Regions from separate parts of the Homo sapiens genome. Here region 2 is linked to region 1. The links are contacts of gene promoters, found by promoter capture Hi-C in blood cells and fetal thymus (Javierre and others, 2016). All regions are on one chromosome and are shown on one strand. Each heading gives the region's core, a stretch centred on a gene start or on the middle of the fragment in contact. The rest is flanking DNA. Distances are from core to core; before and after follow the strand shown.

Region 1 (7,819 bases), core at 1,797-4,296:
CTGGCCTGCTGACTATTCCTGAAACTTGTCAAGCTCGTGCCTGCCTCAGGGCCTCTATCCTCCCCACTCCTGTGTTTTTCCTCTTTGCTGGAAATGCACTTCTCCTTAAAAGTGACCTTTTCAAACAGGTCTTTTTGTTTAGAAGTCACCTTATCAAAATACCTATCTTGAACCACTTTTTAAAAAATAGCAATGCTTTCCAACCAGCCTTCACTGTCTCTTCCTTTAACCTGCTCAATTTTTCTTCAGTGTGCCACCTGCCTTACATTATTTATTAATTTGGTATATATGTCTATCTCCTCCATTAGAATGTCCATTAGGGAAAGGACTTTGTTTTCTTTACCACTCGATTTCAAGTACTTAGAATAGTGCCTGCCACATTAGAGGTACAAAATAAATATGAGATAATTAACTAGGTGAATAGATAAATAAATGAATGATATCACCAAGATATGTTTCAAGTTCTTACACAAACACAATATTTGGCCCAGTGTCTACTATAAACGGTAGAATATTTCCTCAAGTCAACACCAAAAAGGGATGTTATAATAAAGCAGGTCGGACAACAGTCTCACATTACTGAATAACGATACTGATCTGATGTTGATGATTGCTTCTTTACTTTTTTTCTTTTTTTTTTTTTTTTGAGAGAGGGTGTCACTCTGTTGCCCAGGTTGGAGTACAGATCACGGCTCACTGCAGCCTCAACCTCCTGGGCTCAAACGATCCTCCCACCTCAGCCTCCCTCGTAGCTAGGACCACAGGTGTACGCCACCACGCCCAGTTAATTTTTTAATTTTTTGTAGAGACAGGGTCTCGCCAGTTGCCCAGACTGGTCTAAACTCCACCTACCTCTGCCTCCCAAGTGCTGGGATTATAGGCATGAGCCACTGTGCCCAGCCTGATGATTATTTTCAACAGGCCTTGTGTTTCCTAAGCCCCAAAAGCCTTCCCATTTCTCATTCCACTGCCATTTGAGACCCATGGCCACCTGATTGAAACCTCAAGGTTTTGCTAAGAATTTATGAAGAGAGTTAAGAAATCTCTTCAAATTGTTCCTATGAGGAAGTTATTTCATACTATGAGCAAATTCATTTTCATTAAGTATCTGTTGTAACCAAACGTTGTTTCTTAGCTTCTTAGCTCTGTAATATGGCACAATAATCTGACTTACTGAAGCCACTCATTATTTCCCATTGGCTTAATTCTTTCTTTCTTTTTTTTTTTTTTTAGAGATAGAATCTCTCTATGTTGGCCATGCTGGTCTTGAACTCTTGGCCTCAAGAAATTTTCCCACCTCGGCCTCATAGACTCTTTCTATGTTGGCCATGCTGGTCTTGAACTCCTGGACTCAAGGGATCCTCCTACCTTGGCCTCCCAAAGCTCTCACGTACCAGCACCCATTGGCTTAATTATTTCAGTAAAATCAGGCAAGGAGGAACCCTACAAAATAAACACAGGCATTCTCAAAGCAGATATAAGTGAAAACTCAGAGTATACTGTGGTCAGCTGTGTTCTCTATCACAAGTAGTTTGTCAACTTAAAATAAAGTACTAAAGTTTGGGAATGATCTACTCTAAAAATACATCGGACAATGGTCAATGTCATTTACAACATTCACCTCCTTTCTGATACACATCTCAGGAAAAAAAAAAAAAAAACTACTAAGTACCAGGTCAGAAATTTGGCACAACCCTAGATGACCACCTTGTCATGCAAATAAACTTAGAATGGTGCTCCTGAAAGTCAGCCACAGTGCTTCAAAAACACATGATTTTTTAAAACACCAAACTAAGCATACCACATAGTATAGAGACCAGGCTATGGAGTTGAGACCACCTGGGTTAGAATTCCATTTCTTTCCATTTAGTTGCTGTCACCTTCCTAATTTCTCTGTGTTCCATAATTCCATATTATCCATAAAATTCAGATATGAACACTTACTATACAGAGTTGTTATGAGGATTGGACAATGTATGCATCCCACAAGTAGATCAATTACAAGTACATTTTGCCCCAAGTAAAGACAACACGTGGGAACGCTGTGCAAGAGGGAACAGCAAAAGCAGTTGGAGGATGGAAGTCAGTTTGCAAACCTATGCGCACAGGCAGCCAAACACGAAAACGTTCCCCACAAGTAGTCTGTAAATTGGAGACTCCATTGGGATACACACACACACACACACACACGCCCTGAGAGGAAATAGCACCTTTCTTCATCACCAAGTTAGCCTTAAAAATTATTTACCCGTTGTTAGCCACACTAGCACTGACAAACCCAACTTTACTCTTGTAGGTCATTCTCCACAACGTCTGTGCTGCGTCAATCCCAAATCTGACTCCCTGACGCTTAACAGCGAAAATAAAAAACCGAGACATTACTCAATAGAGTTAACCCTTACTTAACAAAACGCTGTTGTCCCCTGTGGCGTGCAGACAGTAGAGACAGTAATTCCCGACCTTATGCTTGTCAGTGACGGCATGCCCTTTGTATACACGCTTCAGTAGAGAACGACTGCAGTAAGTAAACTGCTAGTAGCAACACTGTTCCCCTATCTAAACTTCCCCTTTCCAGAGTTACTGATGTCCCAACATGGGTCGGTCGCTCAGTCTCCGTCAAGCCCGTACCCCATAGCTTGGGCATTTCCCCCCGCAGATCACAAGATGCAAAGGGGAAGTTACTACCAAACCGACGAGAATGGCCCAGAGCTGGGGGCTGCCAGGCGGTTCCTGGGCCCCTCTCAGCACCAGAAGAAGGCGGGCGCAGGCTCGCCGCGGGTCGGCCGCACGCCATACCTGGATCAGGCCCTGCTGGAACAAGGCGCTGTGCACGCAGCCAGGGACCGCCCCGGGCAGCTCCAGCGAGCCGTTCCCATTGCAGATGCTCCAGTTGCCACGCAAGCTGTAACTGAGCTCCGCGGCGGTGGTGCCTGCACCGCACAGCGCGAGCAGCAGGAGCAGGTGGAGGCGCATCTTGAGATCCCGCGCCACCGAGATGTGGAGAGATCGAAAGGCAGCGCTGCAAGGGACCGGCGGTGAAGCCACTCACCCCCTCGGAAGTAGCCGAGGCTTTAGGTCCCCGCCCCGGCCCCGCCCCTAGGTCAGCTGAGCGCTCTCCGGGCGCAGCCGCGGGCGGGAGGGGAACGAGGAGGCTGCGCCTGCACCCGCTGAAAGCCGGGCGTCGCGGGTGCGGGAGCTGCAGCCCCCGAGAATAGCTACAGGCTGGGGGGCATTGCGGTCTGAGCCTTCCCTCGGCGCTTCTTCCCGCCGCCTCAGTACATACAACTGGAGGCAAGAATCTTGCACGGTAATTGGGACAGAAAGATCCCTGGGCGCGCAGTGGCACAAAGCCTCGGGAGATCAGAGACCGACTGTACGTGGAGACCATAGCTGGAGAGTCCCCTCACTCCTTCAGAGAACCCAAACTGGGAGACAACCCACCACTTCCCTTCCGCCAAATTTACACAGACCCTCGTCTACCTGGTAGCGTAACACTCACCCCGCTGCAGCTCAACTCGCGGGTCTCAGAGCCTACCCCGCCCTTCAAAGAGTAAACAAGTACTAGCAGTATCTCCATCAGAAGGTTGTTCTGAGGGCTAACCAAGAAAATGCGACTATAGCATGCAGCATGGAGCCTGGCCCAGAGAAGGCATTCACGTTAGCTATTGTTACTAGCGGCCTGCGTCCTTATGTTTCATAAAGCCCCACGGAGGTTTCTGAGGTTCTGGAACCTGCACTAGGCGCGCAGCTGAGTTTAAAATCCTCTGCACTCACTAGCTGTGGGACCTGGGCAAGCCGCAAAATCTCCATCTCCGTTTCTTGAAGTTTTCAAGGTGTTATAAGTATAAAATGAGTAAACATATGTGATCGTCCCTAACAATGCCAGAGTACCCAAGAAATACCACTGACTTATTTCGGGTCTTGTAGTCAAATGGTCTACCTGAGTCCCATTTTTGCAATAGGATGTAACAGTAATCCTAGAAGTTAAGACGGAATTTTACATTGCATAAAATAGACTGCCTTTCTCCTGTGTTGACGCTATCTGCCGTATATTTATGCTTCGGAAGAAGTCCTTGAAAAGAAATTTTCTCTCATCAAATCTGAGCTTTGTTTCGCCTTACAATGGCCTTGGAATTGCCTGATTCTGCAGACACCGGGCAATATCTTACTTTGCAAAGTCAGCATTATTTACAAGCCCTGAATATCTTGGCTTAAAGGACAGTATGGATTATCCAACCCAAGCCGCTGGCTTTACAGATGAGGGAACTGAGTTCAAAGAGATCGGGGCCAGGCGCGGTGGCTCACGTCTGTAATCCCAGCACTTCTGGGAGGCCGAGGCGGGTGGATCACTTGAGGTCAGGAGTTCGAGGCCAGCCTGGCCAACATGGTGAAACCCTGTCTCTATTAAAAATACAAAAATTAGCTGGGCGCGTGGTGGCACGTGCCTGTAGTCGCAGGTGCTCGGGAAACTGAGGCAGGAGAACCGCTTGAACCCAGGAAGCAGAGGTTGCAGTAAGCCGAGATGGCACTACTGCACTCCAGCCTGGGCTATAGAGAAAGACTCTAAAAAAAAAAAAAAAAAAAAGATCAGGTGACTTGCCTGTCACATAGTGGCAGACAGGATTAGAACCCTCCTCTTCAAGGTCCTACTGTCAGAGCCCAATGATGCTATAGGGGAAACGCTCTCACTGCTTCAAAGCCTTCCTCACTCACTCCAGAAGCATTTTTACCTTTGATAGAAACAAAGCTCTCAATTCAAATTATATGCCATAATTCACGGCATTAAATGGCTAGCCATGGTCTGTGCAACACTGATAACACAAGGTTTATGGCAACAAGAGCGGCAAAGGAATTTTTTCATAATTCCCAGAGATTTCATTAAGCCAAATCAGAGGAAAATTCATCCTTGATGATACATATGGATATATTCTGTTTATTAAGAAATATAATTTTTAGAAAAACAATAATAGAAGATTCTCATTCCTCCTTTCATTCCAGGATGCAAGCATAACATCATTTAGGTTACTTCACTTTGACAACAGAGAACATCAAAGAATAATCAAAGCCCTAATAAGTACTCTTCCTAAAATTGCAATTGGCACAGATGACATGATGTTTTCATTTTGTTATAGGATAATTTTTGTCCATGATTTTCTGGTAAATAAACCTTATTTAGAGATAACATAAAACTTCTCAACTTATGTAATTTAAAGTCATGATACCAAATGCAATGTTTAAAATAGTTATGGGTATCTTTAACTTACACTGTATAAACAGATTTCATTTTGATCATTTCATTTGATGCTTCCCAAAACTTGAATTATTTAGAACAAGTGATCGTTCCCTGGTTTAAAAAGATAAATAATGCCCACGGTGATTAAATGATGTGTAGGGTCAGTATCCTGTCACAACAGACCAATGGAAGTAGTTAGGCCCTTTGCTATATGACAACATTTCCTTCATATCTAAATATATAAAATTGGTAAACTCATTAGAACACCATGGTATATACCAAGGCCAATGATATTCCAATCCCATGATATATTACAGAAGTTATAATAAGGGAAAGAAAATGAAAGAGTAATCAGATGTGGAGTGGACATTTGCCTTTAGACTCATAGTGTCTGATTAAACCCCAGGACTGGGGATAATAGCCCATAAGTATCCTGCCCAAAGGTTTGACATACTTCCCCAGAGTTTGAAGCCCCAAATGTTAGAACAAAGAGAGAAGGTAGTGGAAACTATGTACACCACTAGAATTTGGTGTGTCAAGGATGCATATGCATGAGTTTCCTATAAACCAAGAGGACACCGTAGGAAGTAACCAGGCTTGAGCCAGTATAATGGGATTCTACCCAAGAGAGTCCAAGAAGTCAACTAGAGGACACATGGCCTATGTCAGCAAACTGTGTATATATATACATATACTGTATATATACATATATACATATACGTATATATATACATATACTGTATATATACATACATACATATACTGTATATATACATATATACATACATATACAAATATATATTTTAAATATATATAATTTATATAATAATATAAATATATAAAAATATATAATATAATTATATTATATAATATAATTATATAATTAGGAATATAATATATTATATTCCTAAATAATGCATGGGTCAAAACAATAATAGATTTCCAATTTCTGGCCTGGCATGTAAGGACCTTGGAAGTCATCACTCTATCCTAAAAAGCAAGTAAAAAGCTGCACAAATTGAAAATAGACAACTCTTCTTAGATGAGTCAAAGAAGTGAGGTCACAGGGCAGACTGCTGCCCCAAAATTAGAGATGTAGACAGGTAGATACAGGCAATTACAACTTAACTGAGTAGACCACACACACTACCCCACAACCGTTGTCCCATAGCTGAAATCTCAGTGGGAACCAGTACAGAGTAGGAAGACCTGGACTATAATTGACAAATTACTGGAGGACCAATATGCACAAATTTGAGAGTTAAAAACTCCAAGGGGGCCCAGTCTTAGGGGAGCAGCTGTGCTTTTGTAAGTTTGCCTCCAGGAGCTCCACAAAGCTCTCATAGTGAAGATTGAAGAAAAATCCTCTCGTGTTTCCTGCAAGGGAGGAGGAAAGTAACTATTCTGAATGTGCCAGAGATTCTGTGCTTCTTAACAAGACCCACTCTCAAAAGAAACAATTTTACCAGAGCTGAACCAACTGGGGTTTTATCAGAGTCTCGCCAGCCTGGGAGAAGGAAAATACCCAACTCCAGCCCCCCATAGACATTCTGCCCCATCTAAGGGGGTGAAACATAGCTGAGAAGCACTGTGAAGTTCACAGTCCAGGGGACTGGGCTCACTAGATGACTGAGACCTAATCAGAGGAAAATAGACCATTTTCCCTCTCCCAACACCTTCCCAACACATCACTGAAGGCCTATTTATGGCAATTCCTTTCACCCAGGATGTCATGTATGGCTTTCAACAAAAATTTACAAAGCCAAAGATACAACTTGGAAAGACAAAGCAAATGCCAAAACCAAACTCACATATGGGAGGAATGTCAGAATTATCAGTCCAGGAATTTAAAATAACTATGATTAATATGCTGAGAGCTCTAATGGAAAATTTACACAACATACAAAAACAGATGGGTAACGTAAGCAGAGACATGGAAATTCTAAAAAATAATAAAAAATGCTAGAGATGAAAAGCACCATAACAGAAATGAAGAATGGCGTATTAGTAGATGGAACACGGCTGAGAAAAGAATCTCTGAGCTTGAGGGTATGTCAACAGAAACTTTCAAAACCAAAAAGCAGAGAAAAATGTATGCAAGAAATGAACAGAATATCCAAGAACTGGGGGACAACTACAAAAGATATTGTCAATGAAAAGAGTCAAACTCTATAAATATTTGAAGAGATTTATTCTGAGCCAAATATGAATGACCAATGGCCTGAGACACAGCCCCAGGAGATCCTGAGAGCATGTGCCCAAGGTTGCCCAAGGCTACACAGCTTGGTTTTATTTATTTTAGGGAGACATAAGACATCAATCAATACATGTAAGATGTACATTGGTTTGGTCCAGAAAGGTAAGAAAATTTGAAGTGGGGGCTTCCAGGTCATAGATGGATTCAAGAATTTTGTTCATCAGCAATCGGTTGAAGGAGTTAAGTTATTGTCTAAAAATCTATAATTAATAAAGGGTAATGTCTGGGTTAAGATAAGAGGTTGTGGAGACCAAGGTTCTCATTATGCAGACAGAATCAATAGAAGGGACTGTTTCTTATCTGACTTAAAGAGTTTTCTATGAGTCTTA
Region 2 (7,819 bases), core at 3,810-6,309, 1.4 Mb before region 1:
TACACCTGACCTCCTGAAGTAGACAGACAGATCATCTTTTTTATTCGGTTACTGTTTCAGATGTCCTACCCTCTCCTACTGCCATTCTTTTTCTGTCCTGTCCAGAGATCCCCAACCTTTTTGGCACCAGGGACTGGTTTCGCGGAAGACAATTTTCCCATGGATGGTGGTTGGGGGTGGTTTCAGGATAAAACTGTTCCACCTCAGATCGTCAAGCATTAGATTCTCATAAGGAGCGGGCAAGCTAGATCCCTTGCATGCACGGTTCACAGTAAGGTTTGCACTCCTATGGGAATCTAATGCCACTGCTGATCTGACAGGAGGTAGAGCTCAGGCAGTAATGTTTGCTCACTCTGCTGCAGATCTCCTGCTGTACAGTCCAGTTCCTAATAGGCCACAGACTGGTACTGTTCTGTGGCCCAGGGGTTGGGAACCTCCGTGTTAGACTGCCCTAGCAGTCCATAATTATATTACTGCTTGCATGAGAATACTTTATATTTGGAATTTACATTTTGAAGGGGTTACTTCAGTTCCCAGATGCTGACTTTGGCAATGTCCTGCTTATCAAGAAATAGGAGGGGGGAAAAGCTTGAAAAAAGACAACTTTTTGTCTACCAAAAAAATGTGTTTTCCCTCCCTTAGTATAATTCACTCTGGGAAGTGTCTGCCCAGAGAGGGATTCCCATTTCTAGCCTGACCCTTCTTTCCTCGAAGAAGGTCCATGTGACCAGTTCTGATCAATGGACTGTGGACTAAGATGGTTGGTCACTCTCAGGACAAGGCAGTTAAGCAGTAGATATACATTTTCTAGTCTATGGGCTCCCATCCTTAGCGGAATGCAGAGACTTCTAAGACCCAGGGCAGGCAGAACCCCAGAGACAAAGACGAGAGTCCCTTAATTACCACATAGAGGAATACTACCCAGTTACTAAGAAAATAGGCATTAGGCTTTACTCATTTATTGTGTTACTCCATTACAATGTGGAGATATGTTTGTTAGACTAGTTAATATTACCAAATTAATATACGAAAGTAATATGTTAGTTCCAAAAGTACATTCCTTAGCAAAACCTAGAATTATTGTTTTACTGTAATATAAGAGAACTACCAGAAGACTAAAAATACTCTTACTTCTTTTAATACATGAGCATCAAATCTTAATTCTCTGTTAATGAATATTCTTTGACCACACCTGTTCTGTGCCCTATGCTACATGATGCATAAAATGTAGGGAGTAAAGAAGGATTCAGAGATTTTGTTCCTTCATTCAAGGATTTAAAAGTCTTGTTATATGATCATTAGATATATATTATATTTGCAAACATTTATGTATAAGGTGCTACTTCCTCTTTCTATTGGAGAAGAAAAACTATTAGATTTATCAAAAGTAATTATGAAGATAAATATGTGGGCAAAAAAAGAAAATATTGTGGATTTGGAGTCATCTGTGCATTTAAGTGCTCCACAGAGCAAGCTTCCATTGGTGCAAATCACAGTAAATTAAGTACATTTTAGTATACTATTAAGTGCTTTATCAGATGTTTTAGTTTTAAAAATAAAATAAAATATTGTATGTTATATTCTGTTTTGAAAATAACAGGCTTTCAAAATTTTGAACTTGTATTTGGTTCTTGGATGAATTTATTATCATTTGGACATTACGGTTGAGTAGTAACTTCTGATTATGGCTGGGCATGGTGGCTTACGCCTGTAATCCCAGCACTTTGGGAGGCCGAGGCAGGTGGATCACGAGCTCAGGAGTTCGAGACCAGCCTGCCCAATATGGTGAAACCCCGTCTCTACTAAAAATACAAAAATTAACCAGGCGTGGTGGTGTGTGCCTGTAGTCCCAGCTACTCGGGAGGATGAGACAGAAGAATTGCTTGAACTCAGGAAGCAGAGATTGCATTGAGCTGCAATCATGCCACTGCACTCCAGCTTCGGTGACAGAGTGAGACTCCATCTCAAAAAAAAATAAAAATAAAAAAAAACTTCTGATTATGACTCTTCTGAGGCATTCACTTTTTTCTGAGTAGCTGATGGTAGACAGCAGTATGTCTGCTCTATCCTCACTTAAGTTAGTGGAGCACAATGCTGAGGAACCTGCAAAGTAGGACAGTCAATCCTGATAGGGCCATGAATGTATATGAGACTTTGATTTATTATCTTAAAGCTAATTCCTGTGACATTTCCTTCTCACATTTTCTAGTTCTACCCTACTTCCATAGAGGTTCTATGAAATATGCTATTCTACATAGATCTAATTTGAGGTTCAAACTAAAAGGAAGTTTTATTACCTATTTTTTTATTGCTCTTGAAATTTTGTTGAGCCTTGTTTCTTTCAGAAGGCAGTTTTACCCATTTAAAGAAGTTATTTTTCAAGGAACATTAAAAATTTTTGTATCAAATGTATTCAGGAATAAATTTAATTTTTTCCCATTAGGATTAAACTATAATTTATGGAATTATATGCTAAGTGTAATACAGACAGATATATTTTATGTAAAATTTGACAAGACAATCTGTGATCATTATACATTTGTATTTAATAAATTTTCATATTTATTTTATTTATTAATATGTTTGTATCATCATCTCATATCCTAGTTTTGGGCACAGAGTAGGTGCTCAACAAATTTTGTTGAATGAATTTTTAAAATGTATTGGTGTCCACTATATAAGTTACTAGCCTAAGTAACATTGTTCCTACTCTCAGAGAAATTTCAATATGACCCATGAAATTAAAAACATGCATCCCCACCCCTACACACACACACACACACACACACACACACACACACACACACACACATATATGCTGGAGAGAAATGTTATTAGTCCTTTCTCTTACTTTGAATTCTAATTTTATTACACATTTTGAAAATTATGAATAAATTAATGGTTCCAAGTCATAAATGTTTGCATTTAAAATATATGTGCTATTATATTTTTAAACATCCAAGAAATATACATGCTGTAAAACTTTATGTATTATGGATTCTCTAAACTTAGAATTTCAGAATATTTGACATGAAATGAGCTAAGTTTATATTTTAGGTGCTTTGAGAATAACTTCAACAATACCAGCAAAAGGCTTACTAATCAAACTACAGGTACAGACAAATTATAGGAGACCTGGTAAATCAATTTAGGAGAAAGTTTGTCAGAGCCTTTAAAAGCACATTTGCATATACAAAATCAATATAAGAATTAGTAACGAGTTTCACTCATCTAAGTTGGCAAAGACATATTTTTTACTTGAAACAGATTTTGCCAATTATTGATTAAAAATTGCAAGTAAATATTCTACCATTTAGAAGAATTGGCTAGCCTTCTTTCCATTTACTTCCAATTAGTGAGATTTTTTTTTTTACTACTGTTCATGGCTAGTGGAAGGCATATATTCACAAGGTATTTACTGAGACTGGGTGTGGTGGCTCACACCTATAATCCCAGCACTTTGGGAGGCCAAGGTGAGTGGATCACCTGAGGTCAGGAGTTTGAGACCAGCCTGGCCAACATGGTGAAACCCCATCTCTACTAAAAATATAAAAATTAGCCAACCATGTGGCAGCTGCCTGTAGTCCCAGCTACTTGGGAGGCTGAGACAGGAGAATCGCTTGAACTTGGGAGGTGGAGGTCACAGTGAGCCGAGATAGTATCATTGCACTCCAGCCTGGACAACAGAGCGAGACTCTCTCTCAGGAGAAAAAAAAGGGGGGGTATTTATTGAACACCTATACGTATCAGGCACTAGGAATATAATATGAAAAAAAGCAAAGCAAAGTGTCTGCCCTCATAAAACTTATGTTCTAGTGAGGAGAGACAGATAATAGTAAAGAACAATTAATAACAGTTACACACACACACACACACACACAACATGTCAGGCAGACTAAGTAATAAGTGCAAACAATGCATAGTGGTAAGAACATTGAGGGAAGTGATGAGAAGAAGGGTACTATAGTCAGCCCTCTGTATCTGTGGATTCTACGTTCATGGATTCGACCAACTTTGAATCAAAAATATTTCGGGAAAAAAGATAACTACTTGTATACTGAATATGTGCAGACTTTCTTTTCTTGTCATTATTTCCTAACAAGACAGTGTAGAAACTATTTACATAGCATTTACATTGTGTTAGCTATTATAAGTAATATAGAGATGATTTTAAATATACAGGGGGATGTGCAAAGGTTACATGCAAATACTACACCATTTTATATCAGGGATTTTAGTGTGTGTGGATTTGGGTATCCTCAAGAAGTCCTGGAACCAAACTCCACAGATACTAAAGTACCACTGTACTTGTTGTAGACAGCTTGGACTGGGAAGTCCTCTCTGAGAAGGTGATATTTGAACAGAGATTCAAATGAAATAATGAAGATATTTATGCCACTATGTGGAAGAAGAGAGTTCCCAGTAAAAGGAACTGCATATGCAAAGGTCCAGAGTTAAGAGTCTGGTTGACATGTTTACAAACTCTGAAAGGAAGCCAGGGTAGTTGGAGCAGAATGAACTCGAAAGAGTGGTACAAGATAAGGTTAGGGAGATCATGAAAAGTCAGATTATGTAGGGCCTTAACCATAGGAACGACTGAATTTTATTCTGGGTGAAATGAAAGGGATTTTGTTAGGAAATGATATGATAGGACTTAAGTTTAAAGAAAACAATCATTCTTTGGTAAAAACTGACCCTGGATGTAATGGAGGGAAGGAAGAATGAATAGATATGGGAAGATGTAGTTAAAGGACTATTGTCATAATCCAATAGAAGTAAGGTAGTTTGGGTTATATAGTTTAGAAGACAGTGGTGAAAAGCATCCAATACCAAAAATGCATTTTAAAAGTAGAACTAACAGAATTTGCTGATGGATTGGATACAGGATGTGAGAAAAATAAAAAAGAAGAATCAAGAACTACAAGATTTTGAGTCTCAGCAAATGGAAGATAAGAGTTAACATTTACTAAGAAAGAAAACATTAGAAATGGACAGCATATTTGCTGGAGAAGATCTAAAGTTAGCTTTAGATATGTTAACTCTGAGGCGCATATTGTACATGGAAGTGGAAATGGCATGTGGGCAGTCGGATATATAAGCCTGAACTTGAAAGTCTTGTGTATAAAATTGGAAATCGTGGGCATAATAGTGCTTTATTTCAGTTAGAAGGTAGGAAGAATAGGAGGTTCCAGCAAAACCAACTGAAAGAAGCAGCTTCTGGGATTGAAAGGTAACGTCCCCACAGTCAAGCAAATGAATTGTGTCAACCATGCTGATAGGTTAAGTAAAATGACAACTGAAATTTGATTGTTGATTTTAATAAAAAGAGAAATTATTTGTGATCTTGACAAGGTAGACTTGTATACCTAACAAAAATAGCACCTCATCACTCTCTGCCTCTTTATAGGGTTTCAGTTCCTTTTCAGTATTTATAACTACTTGACGTTGCATCTGTATGTGTGCTGTGTTTGATTTATTTGTTTGTTGGTCTTCTGTCATCTACTTAGATAATATGAACCTTGAGAGCAGGGACTTTGTTTTGTTCCCAATTGAATTTCCATCGCCTGTAACATGCCTACCATATTCCAGGTGCTTAATATATGTTTGTTGAAAAAAAACAAATATTTGATTACAATGTTAGTCTGGGTTAGTTTTTCTAACCTTCTAAATAGTTTAAATAAGCATTTCAAATATTTTTAGGAAAAACTAAAATTTCACATTTAGATTTTTTAAAGTTACAGAGTCAACTTTCGTAGAGAGTGGACTCAGGCCTTGAGGATGACAGATGGAATTCAGGAGTTTAGTTTTTAGCACGAGGTGTGTCTCTCACACATCCGTACTGTAAGAATAATTACTTATATAGATCCAAGGGAAGACACAGTATTACTCATATTTCTTCCTTCTCCAAATACACAAAGGGTTCTATTGTTTGCTTGCAACATCTAAGCTATTCCCTGGTGATAAGTTAGGACAGATAGCAGCAATTTTCAGAGAGGAAGTGGATACGGTTTGGGTTATGGTTGTTTAGGAGCAGTCCTCAAAAGAGTTTCCCTCTCTATTTCAGGGTGTTACCTGTGCCCAGCCCAAAGAAATCTAGTCTGTCTTAGAAATTGTGTTAATATGCTTTAGGGTGCCCGTCCTGCCCATATCCCTGCTGTAGGTAAAATGCCTCAGTAGCCTCACCTGCCAAGTGATCATCAGGTCACAGGTTTAATTACTGCCATTACAGGGGATTGGACTAGGGTGGATGAACATCTGACTAGGGGGTACCTATGGGCTGGTAACCTTTAACTTCCCTAATCTAATTTGCACAAGTAAGCTAGATTAATCAGATGCCTTCTGTGAAGGGCTTGCCCTTAAAATTCAAAGGAAAGTGTACGGTTATTGTTTGAATAAAGGGAAATGCAGGCTGGGGTTAACGTAGCCACTAGCACATGATTCATGTGCAAGGCATGTAAACAGATGAAGCCATTCTGGGTAGAGGGGTAATAGGTCAGATTCAACAGGGGCGGAGAGAGCAGAAAGAGACATTTCAAAATCTGTGTTCTTTTTGTCCTTCCAAGGCATCATTGTTTAATTTTTTTCTGGATATATAAACCCCTCAATACCCTTACAATAAACCCTATTTTCTACAGCTAGTTTGAGTGTTATGTTCCTTACAACCAAAGACCCCTAAAAAGAGCCACTAAGATTGTTACTTTACGCCCTCTGTAAGTTTTCACCTACTGATTCTGGTGCTTATGGCAATGCTCTTCTTCAGCAGACAATGACCATATTCTACCTTCATCCTTGCCCATACCATTGTTTCTATAGCACACTCAGTACAAAAAAATTAAAGGAGAAAAATTAGTATGGATGGAAAGAGGGATAGATAGACTCTGACTAGGCAGTCTTGGGGAATTTTTGAGCTATTGACTGAATATTCTCCATGCCTATTGCCATGTCATCATCAGGCAGGTTATAGGCTATGCTGCAGTAAAAATGGAAAATCTTGGTAGCTTAACAAAAGTTTGAATTTCTCTGCAGGTCTGGGCAGCCCTCCAGGCTGACTCAGCATTCCAGCCTCCTACAATCAGATAGCACAAATATTAACACCTGGTTCCACAGTCACCCAACAGGGCTGGAGAGGGCTGAAGGTCTAAGCCCTAGCAATCAAATGCTTCTGCCTGGAAGTGATACTCATGAATGACCACACTCACATTCCATAGGCTGAATTCATCATTTGGCTAAACCTAATTTCAAGGGAGGCAGAGTTATGTGATTCTCCCACATGTCTGAAATTAGAGATCAAACATTTATAAAGGGTAATAATGCCAATCAGCGTATCTAAATAACCCATCTAATCCTGTGGGACCCATATGCTACTCATTACAACCCAGTGACTAGGACATTTGTCTTATCTGTTTCACATGCCACAGTTAGTCCTGGAATTACTGTGGAACATACGCGCACACACACACACACACAAAACATATTACTAAAAATTAAAGTTTTTAATTAAAATTTTTTGGGTAAAAATTTACTTTTTGTTCCTCATTCATGACCTAAGAATTTCTGTTCTGCTAAATATATACTACCTACCTCCCGTGTAATTGTAATGCATAGTCAGCTATCTAAGGTTGGAGTACCTAGATGCGGACCCTGAGATAAATATTCATATAAAGGTGATTTATTAAAAAGTGTTCCAAGGAAAAACCAGGGGGGAAGCAGGAAAAGTGACAGGGAAGGGAAGAAAGCCAAGCAAGGGTGATATGTCAAGCAAAGATGGTTAACTTTGGCCCAATCCTGTGGGGGTCCTCTGGAGACTTATAAGTCACAC

The links. Contacts are between HindIII fragments. The CHiCAGO score rates a contact against its expected background, and 5 or more counts as called.
Region 2: a fragment that was not itself captured here is called in contact with the fragment with the promoter of MANBA in region 1 in 1 of 17 cell types (neutrophils); the score reaches 5.2 in neutrophils.

What each region holds. Positions count from the first base shown.
Region 1 is chr4:102,757,922-102,765,740 of GRCh38, forward strand. It overlaps MANBA (mannosidase beta), which reads right to left and starts at 3,047. Exons shown (of 17, transcript NM_005908.4): 1 at 2,797-3,047. The coding sequence starts at 2,973. RefSeq lists an enhancer at 2,642-2,991 and a silencer at 3,082-3,211. The HindIII fragment of the contact is 23,862 bases long and covers 1-7,819 here.
Region 2 is chr4:101,350,053-101,357,871 of GRCh38, forward strand. No RefSeq gene overlaps it. Among named protein-coding and RNA genes, the nearest start is that of PPP3CA-DT, 6.2 kb to the left of the region's middle. The HindIII fragment of the contact is 7,175 bases long and covers 1,473-7,819 here.